Linked DNA regions of Homo sapiens: all the other regions are linked to region 2. Evidence: promoter capture Hi-C in human tissues and cell types (Jung and others, 2019). All regions are on one chromosome and are shown on one strand. Each heading gives the region's core, a stretch centred on a gene start or on the middle of the fragment in contact. The rest is flanking DNA. Distances are from core to core; before and after follow the strand shown.

What was found. Contacts are between HindIII fragments. The study calls those that stand out against the background at their distance.
Region 1: a contact is called between a fragment that was not itself captured here and the fragment with the promoter of ERMN in region 2, in 1 of the 25 tissues and cell types used here (spleen).
Region 3: a contact is called between a fragment that was not itself captured here and the fragment with the promoter of ERMN in region 2, in 2 of the 25 tissues and cell types used here (lymphoblastoid cells and spleen).

What each region holds. Positions count from the first base shown.
Region 1 is chr2:157,476,634-157,480,963 of GRCh38, reverse strand. All of the region lies in intron 3 of LOC105373712 (a long non-coding RNA gene), which reads left to right. Among named protein-coding and RNA genes, the nearest start is that of CYTIP, 35 kb to the right of the region's middle. RefSeq lists a silencer at 1-39 and enhancers at 200-249, 390-519. The HindIII fragment of the contact is 3,799 bases long and covers 1-3,418 here.
Region 2 is chr2:157,322,644-157,327,212 of GRCh38, reverse strand. It overlaps ERMN (ermin), which reads left to right and starts at 1,389. Exons shown (of 3, transcript NM_020711.3): 1 at 1,389-1,811; 2 at 2,451-2,543. The coding sequence starts at 1,571. RefSeq lists an enhancer at 956-1,505. The HindIII fragment of the contact is 5,881 bases long and covers 1-3,280 here.
Region 3 is chr2:157,519,974-157,524,532 of GRCh38, reverse strand. No RefSeq gene overlaps it. Among named protein-coding and RNA genes, the nearest start is that of CYTIP, 78 kb to the right of the region's middle. The HindIII fragment of the contact is 3,076 bases long and covers 80-3,155 here.

The sequences.
Region 1 (4,330 bases), core at 270-2,769, 150 kb before region 2:
TCTGAGCCACCCAAAGCTGGGGGTGGAGTGATACAAGCTCCCTTGTGGCAATCACCACTATGACTGTTCTCAGTCAGACCTGAAGCCAGCACAGTACTGGATTTCACCCAAGGCCTGTTGCAACCACTCCCTGGCTACTGCCTATGTTCTCTGCAATCAGCAAGTGGCAAAGACAGCCAGGCCCGTGTCCTTTCCTTCAGGGCAGCAAGTTCCCCCAGGCTCCAGGAAGGCCCAGAGGTGCCACCCAGCAGCCAGGGATTAGAGTCAAAACCCTTAGAAGTCTATTATACTGCAGCTGAGCTGGCATTCAAACTACAAGATACAGTCCATCTCACTCTTCTCTCACCTTTTCAAAGGCAGAGGAGCCTCACCTCTTGGCCACCGTCACCACAGGCCTACAGGGAGTACTACCAGACTACCACCAATGTTCCCTTAAGGTACAAAGTCTCTTCAGTCAGCTTGTGGTGAATGCTGCCTGGGTTGGGACTCACCCTTTAGGGCAGCGTGCTCCCTTCAGGCCCAGGGCAGGTCCAGAAATGCCATCCAAGAGCCAAGTCCTGGAATTGAGGACCCCAAGAGGCCTGCTTTGTGCTTTACAACCCTGTGGCCAAGGTGCATGACAAAGTCCCCTTTGCTTTTCCTTTCACTTTTTTCAAGCAGAAGAAGTCTCACCCATAGCCATCATGGCTGGGAATGTGCTGAGTCACCCAAAGCCAGCAAGTTTCAGAGTCTCCCCCAAGACCCTCAATGTAGTACCTGCATATTGCTGCTGGTTATTCAGGACCTAAGGGCTCTTCACTTAGCAGGTGATGAATGCTGCCAGGAAAGCGTCCTTTCTTTCAAAGCAATGGGTTCCCTTCTGGCCCAGGGTATGTCTGGAAATGTCATCTAGGATCTAGGGCCTGCGAAGGGGGCCTCATGACTCCAATTGGTGTCCTATCCCGCTGTGGCTGAGCTGGTATCTAAGATGCAAGACAAATTCATCCTCACTCTTTCCTCTCCTCTCCTCAAGTGGAAGGAAAAGGTCTCTTGTGGAGCTGTGAGCTATGCAGCCTGGCGTTAGGGAAGTGTTAATAGCAGCCCTGCCTTAGGTGCTGCAGTGTCTCAGTAGGTCACATGTCCCTCCAGTCAACTGTCTCTGAGCCCAGTTTAGCCCTAGGACTCACCGAGGAATTGTAGTCCTTGTGACCTAGAATGCCTTTCGAGTTTATTTAGAGCCCCAGAGCACTTTAGACCATGGTGGTGAGGCTTGTGGGAACTCAAGTTCTTACCACTGGGATTGATGAGAACTTAGCTGATGCTCCTTCCTTGGGTGGGTGATCAGCTAAGTTTGGACTGGTTTTCCTTTCTGTTATAACAACAGCACTGAGTTTAATGCCTCACAATTGCTGCACTCTCCCTCCCCCAGTTCATGGAGAAGCTTTCTGTACCATACCACTGCTGCTGGGGTGGGGAGGTGGAGGGGAAGGGTTATGTCTTTTTTTCTACTTTTTCAGTGCCCCTTTCAGCAATACAAAGTTAAAACCAAGTACTACGAGTGCTCACCTGATTATGGGTTCTTATGAAGATGGTTTTTTTGTGGGTAGATAGTTGTTAAATTGGAGTCCTTGGGGTTTGGGAGGGGAGCGATTGGTAGAGTCTTCTATTCTTGATCTACCTACCAGGAAATGTAAATTAAAGTGACAGGATACTACTATAGGCCTATGGGAGTGGCAAAAATCCAAAACACTGACAACACCAAATGCTGATGAGAATGTAGAGCAACAGGAACCCTCATTCATTGTTGGTGGAAATGCAAAATGGTACAGCCGCTTTGGAAGACAGCTTTGCAGTTTAATGTAAAACTAAACATACTCATACCATAGAATCCAGGAATTGGTCTGCTTGGTATTCTCCCGAATAAGTTGAAAATTTAAGCCCACACAAAAACCTATACATGGATGTTTATAGCAGCTTTTTTCATAATTGCCAAAACTTAGAAGCAACTAAGACGTCCTTCAATAGGTAAACAGATAAAGAGACTGTGGTACATTTATATGATGGAATATTATTCAATATTAAAAAGAAATGAGCTATCAAGTCACGAAAAGACATGGAAGAACTTTAAATGTATATTAGTAAGTGAGAAAAGCCAACGTGGAAATGTTACATACTGTTTGATTCCCATTATACGACATTCTGGTGAAAACAAACTGTAGAGACAGTAAAAAGATCAGGGATTAGGTGGGAGGAAGCAATAAATAAGTGGAGCACAAGGCCGGGCGTGGTGGCTCACTCCTGTAGTCCCAGCACTTTGGGAGGCCGACGCGGGCAGATCACGAGGTCAGGAGATCGAGACCATTCTGGCTAACATGGTGAAACCACATCTCTACTAAAAATACAAAAAATTAGCCAGGCGTGGTGGTGGGCTCCTGTAGTCTGGGAGGCTGAGGCAGAAGAATGGCGTGAACCCAGGAGGTGGAGCTTGCAGTGAGCCCAGATCGTGCCACTGCACTCCAGTTCGGGCGACAGAGCAAGACTCCATCTCAAAAAAAAAAAAAAAAAAAAAAAAAAGGGGGGAGCACACAGGATACTTAGGGCAATGAAACTATTCTGTATGATATCACAATGCTGGATGTATCATTATACATTTGTCAAAACCCATAGAATATACAACACCATGAGTGAACCTAATGTAAACATGGGTTACATTTGGGTAAAAGTGATTGCTTGTATTTGGGTAAAAATGATTGGCTATATAGGTTCATTAAATATCTTCATATCAGTATCATGAAGGAAGTAATATTGGTATGCCCATTTCACAGGTAAGGAAAATGAGTCATAGAGGGGCTGTAACAAATGTCTCACTCTGGTGCCTAATGCTGATAGTGGGGGAGGCTGTGCAAATGTGGAGGCAGGGGATATATGAGAACTCTCTGCACTTTCCACTTAATTTTGTTATGAACCTCCAACTGCTCTAAAAATAAAATATATTGAAGATTAATTGATAATAAAAATATTAGAGTCACAGGTAACCAAAGCACAGAAATTGGCTTTCTAAATAGATGACAGATTTCCTCACCTTTGCGTGGGACAGAATAAATTTTTTTAACTTTTATTTGAGGTTTGGGGTACGTGTAAAGATTTGTCACATAGGTAAACACATGTCACAGGGTCTTGTACATATTGTTTCATCACCCAGGTATTAAGCCCTGTACATGTTTTGTTTTATGACTCCATCCCTTGGACAGAAAATGTCTAGTGCATCATAGATGCAGTTGAGCCTTCTACCTTCTCTCTGTATTTTATTTTCATAGCTACTGATATGGAGCAGCTATTTCATAGCTACTAGGGAGCAGCAAAGGTGGATGAGAAGAGACTGCCTCTTCCTGGAAGGCTTACCCTTGATAGTGAATCTACTTCCAATGTTGCAGAGAACTATGTGTCACTGTTATTGTTCTGAATGATGCAACTCTATGGAGACTCTTTATTACCTAGAAAAACAGCAGTCTCTGAAAGTTGAGATTCTGTTTTCTTAGAATACTGTTTTTGGTGTTCACAGCTTTAGTTAGTCATGAAACCAGGTTATGAGAAATAGGAGCTGGCAAGTTGGACATGGCATAGCTGTAAGAAATGTCTTCAGCAAACTGATATTTGCCTACAATGTTATTCTTTCACATTTAGCTACATACATTCATTCTGTGCCTTGGTTTCTCAGACTTTTCTCTGTAACACAAGAGATTTTGCACAACTAACTCATTTAATCTTCATTGCAACCTCATGAGGAAAGTTAATATTGGTATGCCAATTCCACAGATGAAGAAACTGAGTCACAGAGAGGCCATAACTGGCCTACTGTGAGATAGCTAGTCAGGGGTAGAGTTGAGATCTGAGTAAAAGCATCCTTGCTTCAAAGTAGGGTTCTTAATCACTCTACTGGGTTGCAAAAAGCCACAATAATAAAAACAACATGAAACTGGTTAAAAATTAGAACTATTTATGTAACAAAAATAAATAGATTGGAGGTAGAAACTAGGGTATAGTTTCATTATAAAATTATCCAACCCAACAAGGGTTGCTATTTGGAGAAATTGGTTATTTGGATTGAAAAGTCCAGTTTAGGCAATCCCCCCTTAAAGATAATTACCCATTTTATTCCAAGTGGGTTAAAGAGTTAAATATAAAGAGTTAAACCAAAATAACTTGGAAGAAATATAGATGAGTATTTATCTTATCTCTGGATAGAAAATGATTTTCTAAACATAAAAGCAATTAAGAAAATCACAGAGGAAAGACTGATGAATGAAATGAAATATTTCTGTATATCATAAACAAAATGAAGACAAATAAC
Region 2 (4,569 bases), core at 140-2,639:
AAAGGTGATATGCTTACTACAACTCTTCAACACCTATTCTTCTTCTCTTTAAAAATGATCTGAAATTTATTCTCTTGGGGATAAAATTTATTGTATATATTATATATATAATATAATTCTTGTTATGTATGTGTATATATATAATTATTTGTGTATATATGTGTATATATATAATTATTTTTATTGCGTGCTACTATTCCAAGCCAGATGCTAAGTGCTGGGGACACATGTAAGCAAGTTAAACTGGCCCCTCGCCAGATGAAACTTAGTTTGCAGTTGGTGAAACAGACATTACAGAGATAATTGTGCAGTTGCTTATTTAGTTACAACCATGAAGAATACTCTGAAGGGCAAAGACAATGTGTAACAGAGTCCTGTCCTAATCCTGGCGGTTAGAGATAGTGTAGTTAAGGAGATGATATTTAAGCTTAAAAACAGAACTTAGGGAAGCTGGTCAGCCCAGGGCTTGGGCTTGAGGAAGAGAAGGGCATTTCACATAGAAGGAGCTGTGTGGGCAAAGGCTCTGGAACCATTTTGTACTATGAGAAATCCAAAAAAGAAAAAGATTTAAAAAGGAAGGGGTGGTCAGTAGCAGTCATTTAACATAATCACCTGTTTCTCCCAAGGGCAGATTGCATTGGTCCTCTACATTTTACCAGCATTGTGTAATATCAGTATGGAATAGAAAGGATTGTAATTCTGATTGGGGGAGGAGAAACCTTCATGGCGATAATTTTATTAGGGTTTTAAAGGATCGGCTGGGCTTCAGCAGACATAAACTAGAGGATAAGAAGCTATAGACTAAGTAAATTACTCTGAAATTATAAAACTTTTGGTATTAGCAAGTTGGTAGAATTTGTTTATTTCATAGGTCCCTTCTCCAGCCTGCTGGAAGCACACCATCAAATCTGCAGCCAGAACCATTTACAGTAAAGTTGTCCTGTTTATAGGTTTTTTCCATAAGCTGTTTTATTTTTTAATAAATAAGAAACAATGCCATTGTCCTTTACAAAATAGCTGAGGTTTTACTTGAACAAAATCTGTTTGGAAATGTTAAGCTGGTTACACAGAACTAATATGCCTCAAGGTGGTCATTCTCTCTGGATTAAAGCTGTGGGACAATTGTGGCTCCTGTTACAGGGAAAATTACAATGGGCCATTATGAAAAGGGACAAAAATCTCTGTTCCCAGAGGGGGACTGACAAGCTGAAAGTCCCTCTCTACATGCCAACACAAAAGCCTGATTGCTTCAGATTGTTTGTTTATGTAAATCAAAAGGATGCCTTTAACTCTGCCAGGGAACTGGCAAGCAACAAAGAAGGTGGTGATTGGCTGGATTCTTGCTCATGGCTCCTGGCAGATCTGACAAATCCTCTTGCTTTTGCTCTAATCTCTGTCTGGATACTTTTAGGAAAAGAACCTTGTTATTATGTACTAAAGTGAATAATTTGTGCTCTTAGAGTAGGAGTTGGAACTATAGGACTTGAAGGCAAGAGCAGGTATCTTATCAAGGATCTACTCACTCAGTTTCCCTAAAGCTCTCTCTCCAGATCGGATTCAACCGCACATCATGACAGATGTTCCGGCTACATTTACCCAGGCTGAGTGTAATGGGGATAAACCACCTGAAAACGGTCAACAAACAATCACTAAAATCAGTGAGGAATTGACTGATGTGGACAGCCCCCTGCCACACTACAGGGTAGAACCCAGTCTGGAAGGTGCACTCACCAAAGGAAGTCAGGAGGAAAGAAGAAAATTACAAGGGAACATGCTGCTCAACTCATCCATGGAGGACAAAATGCTAAAAGGTAAAGTGTTTCCCTTCTCCTTAATTTTCTTGTTTTGACTTATAAATTTACCCTGGATTTTTTTGATAAACTATTATCGAAATGAGCTGGACACCCCAAAAATGTAGCCCTTTATTCTACTACGCATAGTATAAGGACTAAACCTCTGCCTCTGGTGAAATCCAGGCTGGTCTATTTGACAGCTGTGACCCCAGACAACTTTCTGTCTCCCGAAGCCTGAGTTTTTTTCACTAGAAGAAGGCGGAATAATAATAATAACTACAAGTCTAGGGTAAGTATTGGCTAAATGTTAACTACTGTATTTATTATGATTATGGACAGCCCCATATTATTTGAACAAAGAGAATTCAAAATGTTAAAATTTCCTTCTAAATATAACTGAAGTTCTCTGAATTTATGGTTCTATATCTTATATATATATCTTATATAAATATTAAAGGAGAGATTACAATCAATAAAGTGATCATTAAGTAAATAAATTGAATTGATAAAGAATGAATCCAAAGAGTGAAATAGTAAATTTTAATGATCAGATTTAAAATTAAAGACTTCTACCTAGAGTTTAAATTGATAACTTATTAACTGTTGAACAATAAATATTTTAAATGTTAAAATACTGATTTTATATTTTTTTCCTAGAAAACCCAGAAGAGAAACTCTTTATTGTTCATAAGGCTATCACAGATCTTTCTCTCCAAGAAACTAGTGCTGATGAAATGACATTCAGAGAAGGTAACAAGAACTACAGTTTTGTACACAGAAATTGTTTGACTGAGTATGGATGACAGTCTTTCCATGAAATGTTGCATGAGCGTGGGGTTGACAAAGCAATCCAGGCAATGACTTCAAATTTTCAAAGCTGCTGTAGGCAGATAAGAGAGTCTTAACTTATCTGTGGGTTCCACCTTATAAAGCATTCCAGACTGTTCAAGGCTGAGGCTGCATGGAATGGCATAGCTGATTGGCATACCAACGTGATGTCTATCTCTTAAGTTAGTCCACTGAGTCAACCCTACTTTTTGATTTGGTGTGTCCAAATCTGTGTGTGCACCTTGTGAAAGGTAAATGTTTCAAAAACGGGTCTTTCCTAAAAGTCTACAATTAACATACAGCTTTTTTTTTTTTTTTTGAGACGGAGTGTCACTCTTGTTGCCCAGGCTGGAGTGCAATGGTGCAATCTCGGCAGACTGCAACCTCTGTCTCCAGGGTTCAAGCGATTCTCCTGCCTCAGCTTCCTGAGTAACTGGGATTACAGGCACCTGACACCACGCCCAGCTATTTTGTGTGTGTGTGTGTGTGTGTGTGTGTATTTTTAGTAGAGACGGAGTTTCACCATGTTGGCCAGGCTGGTCTTGAACTCCTGACCTCAGTTGATCCACCTGCCTTGGCCTCCCAAAGTGCTGGGGTTACAGGCGTGAGCCACTGTGCCCGGCCAACATACAGTTTAAAGTAATCTCACGAAATGATTTACTTTATAGGCCTCTAATGTAAATACAAAATTGTTAACTATTTCATGTCAAAGAAAGACAGGGTGATAAAGTTAATTTTAATTGTGTTCTTTAAGAAAATGGAAGAATAAAAAGAACATTGAAGTGATTATGTTAAATTTTAAATAAACTTAATAGACTAAGAGACACAAAATCCTTTAGATTTTTCTAAGACACCTACATTTAAACAGTTCCCAAATAAAGTGTAGGATAAAATCTATTAATTAATCATTTCTTTCCTCTCTTGCAGCCATACACATCTTATGTCAAATTGAAGTCAGCTTGCTAAACCTAACCAATTTAGCTTTGTTAGGACTTTAACAGGCAAAATATTGAAGAGACTATTGGTTGAAATATTAGAACATCACATAAAATAGTAGATGTCAAGGAGGACAGGAATGTGATTGGCTATTTCCTACATCTGCTCCCTTTGCCTGAACACCTCTCATACTATGTCTGCTTAGCAGTGTAGCAACACTTAAGGAAATATGTAGCAAGCAATAGACAGTGTCAAGCTGTCACATTACCAGAGATAATTTTTAAGACTTAAGACTTCACAATATGAACTTAATAACCTCTTTGCCCTAATTATTCTGCTTCCAATGTAACAAGTTCTCAGAGGCAGAATCTCAACCTCCTATCATCTAGAGCCCCTTTCAAATGTTTGATCAGGAGTCCATTGCAGGTAACAGTTGTCTAGATCTTTCATTTTCATCAAATGGAGAATGAAAGCAGGCTGTAGTTTTCAGCTAGATGGTCTCGCTGGTTAAGTTTTCCCTCAATGAATCCTTTCCTGTTTGATGGAGTATGTTTTTCCTCCATAATAGAGGCACAGATTTTGGTGTGTTTTATCTTCACAGTGGCAAACAGCTATAAAATCTTCAAAAAGAATGTTACTGGATTAAAACATATAAAGATGCTAAAAATATTGAGGAAAAACTATAATTTAAATTCAAGGAGTAATTTTATATGTGACAATCTCATGGCTGAGTCATGAATATAAACAAAATATCACTTACTTTGGTTCTTGTGGAAAACAAAATAAAACAAAGCATAAGATTATGGCAAACATTCTAATGTGTATTTATGGATAATGTTAGGAACATTGACGGGACACTAGCGACCTGATAGCAGCTGTGTGTAACAAATTAGGGTGATCACCCATCTTTACTTCTATCTCTGTAAGTTTACTATGTATTCCCTAGAGTGAGAAAACAACAAAAAAATAAGAGAACTGAACACCTTGGATGAAAATGGAATTGTGAACATCT
Region 3 (4,559 bases), core at 368-2,867, 200 kb before region 2:
TAAATGCAAAGCAAAATATTGTCATAAGGAAGCCAAAAAATAAATGACATTTAATCTTTAATCATTTAGTTTTATTACAATTATGACATGAAGAATTTTAAAAATACATACACAGAAAGAAACAATCATTTATAAAGGTCTACCTTGTAATTCCATCTTTGCACAAATAAATCTCGAGGTGCCACTGAACTGTATGCATTAAATTTCAAATATAATCAAATCAGGTTTAGAAATACTAATGGTGTTTCATAGAAGAATCCTTGCTTCAGCAACTTAGGAAATTACACTTGATTTTCTTTTGAGTGTTATTCAATTGTGCTTGAAATTGTTCATTTGAACCCTTCTAAACAACAAGCAGGTGGTTAAATGTGGGCACTGTTTAACATTTACACAAAAAATTCCAAGCACAATGCACTTTTGCTCTGTGAATGTCAACTGGCTTTCCCTTCTCTCTCATAGCCTGTCCTTCCCTGGCCATTAGATTTGACCTTGCTACATCCCTGAAAAGAGAACTGGCTGAAATGTAGCTACTTGCTAGGGAGCATTAGACTATTTTTATAGTCCTGCAGCTAAAGCTTTTAATGTGGCAACTGCTGGTTACTGAAGCAGTTTAAGAAAAAGGAACTGCTGAGTTTGCCTTTTATTTTTAAATGGAGAAACACAAGGTGACAATCATATAAGATATAAGTGAAGCGGAACAGGGGAAATACAGCCTAGGATTTCTGTATAGAGCAAAAGCAAGAATTTGCAAACCACATTTCAATTCTATACTGCAATCTGGATCTTTACTTTTATATAATACGTGAACTAGTTCATAAAATGCACTTTTCTCTATGTCAGCTTTTCCTTTATCAGAAATACATGGGTGATACCATAAACATCTTACTGAGAATTTAGTCACTGTGAGGTATTTGTGAAATAACCAAAAATTTACATTTGGGTGGAAATATGACATTCGCAAAGACATAGACTTTGTAGTTCTTTCCTTTCCAAAGCAAACTTTTGTTAAGTGTAGGGTACATTCTCTGTCCCCATTTTCTCTCTGCCCATTCACTCCTCGACCCACTACAATGGAACTTTTGAGTCTTCCTGTAAAATGGCCTCCTCTGTGCTAAGTATTTTGTAGTAGTCTAGTGCAAAGATATTTACCCTTTTCTTCCTTTGTCCCTCTCTGGCCTTTGCAACAGACTGTCCTCTCCCATAATTATTTTCCTTTGCTTGATTGTCCTCCCCCTACCTCTTCTTTTTCTCTGCATTCTGCACTTCATCTTCTTCTTCTTCTTCTTTTTTTTTTTTTTTTCTGTTCTTTTGAGACAGAGTCTCACTCTGTTACCCAAACTGGCGTGCAGTGGCATGATCACAGCCCATTGCAGCATCGACCTTTCCAGGCTCAAGTGATCCTCCTACCTCAGCCTTCCCAGTAGCTGGGACCAGGCCTGTGCCAGTAAACCTGGCTAATTTTTCTATTACTTGCAGAGACAAGGTTTCACCATGTTGCCCATGCTGGTCTCAAACTCCTGGGCTCAAACGATCCGCCCGCCCGCCTTGGCCTCCCAAAGTGCTGGGATCACAGGTGTGAGCCACTGTGCCTGGACAGTATTTTCCTTTCTTTGTGTCCCTACAATGCTAATATTTACCTGTATCTAGCTTTGGCTGTCCTAAACACTCCTCCTTGGTGATCTCATCTACTCTTTTGTCTTTAATAAGGCTGGTGATGTTCAAATCTGCATATTTGTCCCAGACTTATCTTCTAAGATCCAGGCCCTAATGTCCAGCCTCTTCTTTATGTATCCACCTGGTTATAACATAGTCACTTCTGATTCCAATGTCAAAATGTAATTTTTTGTGTCTCACTTCTTTTGCTTAGCATACTGTTTTTGACATTCAGTCATGTTGTTAGATGTATCAGCAGCTTGTTCTTTTACATTGCTGGGTACAGTTGTATTCTATTAACATACCACAATTTGTTTATGCATTCACCTGTTGAACATTTGGGTTGTTTCCGGTTTGGGGCTATTATGAATAAATCTGCTGTGAACATTGATGTTTAAGTGTTTTTGTGGATATGTGTTTTCAATTCTCTTGAGTAAATACCTAACACTATAATTGCTGGAGTGTAAATACTTTCAAGTAGAATTAGGTAAATACTTAGGGGTGTAAAGTGTATGTACCATTTTATACTCGCTATCAGTATATGAGAGTAATAGTTGCTCCAGAGTTTTTCACTGTAGCTTTTCTGGTGAAGTGCAGTAGTATCTCATTGTTATTTTAAATTGAACTTCTGTGATCACTAATAATATTTAGCTTCTTTTCCTACAAATACTGACTTTGTGCATTTGGAGTACATCAAAATATTTTGCCCACTTTTTTACTGGTCGTTTGTTTTCTTATTATTGAGTTGTAAGTATACTTTACGGATTCTGGATACAAATATTTGACAGATATCAAGTCATTTTTTTCGTGACAAACCTGTTTCCCTGCCTGTGATCCCTCTTGTTCAACCCAACAACCCAGTCCTATTGTCCCTTCTTCCTAAATATATCTATCCTTCCTCTTCATCTGTATGCCACCATACCACTGTCTCACTTCAGGCCCCTACCAGTTGTTACTTTGGTGTCTGCCATGGTCTTTTCTCATATTGTGTCTCCATTTCCACTCCTATTAATTTACTCTCTTTCAGATAACTACTAGTGATTGTTCTAAATTATAAGTATAATCACCTTATTTTCCTCTTTAAAATATTTTTAAATCTTAATTTGAAACTGTCTGTTTATTTCCGAACAAAAATAGAATTTCATAGCAACTCAATTTCCTTCCTTTTCTCCTCCCTCAGCTAATCCCTCACCTCTTTCTCTAATATACCTGTCAACTAGAACTACTGGCAATGCTATAAACACTGCATGTGTATCTACAATTCTAGGATTTCATGTAACTATTTTTTCATCTTTCTGGAATTTCCCTGTCTCTGTCTAACTCACATGATTCACTTTTATTTCTCATCAGGCTCAGTTTAAACATGATCTTCTTTTGAATATTATTTCACTAATTCATTCTTGATGTAGGTACCTGTCTTAATCGGAGTTTTCTAGAAAGAGAGTCTGAGGAAGGGTCTAGGTGTTGATGGTTTACTTGGGAGGTGCAAAGCTAGTGCAACCAAAATGAGGACCTTCACTTTGATTATTTCCCTCAAACTCAGATGAATAATTGGGATAAATAAATAAGCATGTGTATATTTGAATCTTACATTGTTTTCTGTAAATCACAGCAAATCTATGAAAAACCTACAGTTATACCTAATGGTTAAAGACTATACTTTCCCCTAAGTCCAGAAATAAATTAATATTAATTTTCACAACTTCTTTTTTTTTATTATTATACTTTAAGTTTTAGGGTACATGTGCACATTGTGCAGGTTAGTTACATATGTAGACATGTGCCATGCTGGTGCGCTGCACCCACTAACTCATCATCTAGCATTAGGTATATCTCCCGATGCTATCCCTCCCCCCTCCCCCCACCCCACCACAGTCCCCAGAGTGTGATATTCCCCTTCCTGTGTCCATGTGATCTCATTGTTCAATTCCCACCTATGAGTGAGAATATGCGGTGTTTGGTTTTTTGTTCTTGCGATAGTTTACTGAGAATGATGATTTCCAATTTCATCCATGTCCCTACAAAGGACATGAACTCATCATTTTTTATGGCTGCATAGTATTCCATGGTGTATATGTGCCACATTTTCTTAATCCAGTCTATCATTGTTGGACATTTGGGTTGGTTCCAAGTCTTTGCTATTGTGAATAATGCCGCAATAAACACACGTGTGCATGTGTCTTTATAGCAGCATGATTTATAGTCCTTTGGGTATATACCCAGTAATGGGATGGCTGGGTCAAATGGTATTTCCAGTTCTAGATCCCTGAGGAATCGCCACACTGACTTCCACAATGGTTGAACTAGTTGACAGTCAGTCCCACCAACAGTGTAAAAGTGTTCCTATTTCTCCACATCCTCTCCAGCACCTGTTGTTTCCTGACTTTTTAATGATTGCCATTCTAACTGGTGTGAGATGGTATCTCATTGTGGTTTTGATTTGCATTTCTCTGATGGCCAGTGATGATGAGCATTTTTTCATGTGTTTTTTGGCTGCATAAATGTCTTCTTTTGAGAAGCGTCTGTTCATGTCCTTCGCCCAATTTTTGATGGGGTTGTTTGTTTTTTTCTTGTAAATTTGTTTGAGTTCATTGTAGATTCTGGATATTAGCCCTTTGTCAGATGAGTAGGTTGCAAAAATTTTCTCCCATTTTGTAGGTTGCCGGTTCACTCTGATGGTAGTTTCTTCTGCTGTGCAGAAGCTCTTTAGGTTAATTAGATCCCATTTGTCAATTTTGGCTTTTGTTGCCATTGCTTTTGGTGTTTTAGACATGAAGTCCTTGCCCATGCCTATGTCCTGAATGTAATGCTTAGGTTTTCTTCTAGGGTTTTTATGGTTTTAGGTCTAACGTTGAAGTCTTTAATCCATCTTGAATTAATTTTTGTATAAGGTGTAAGGAAGGGAT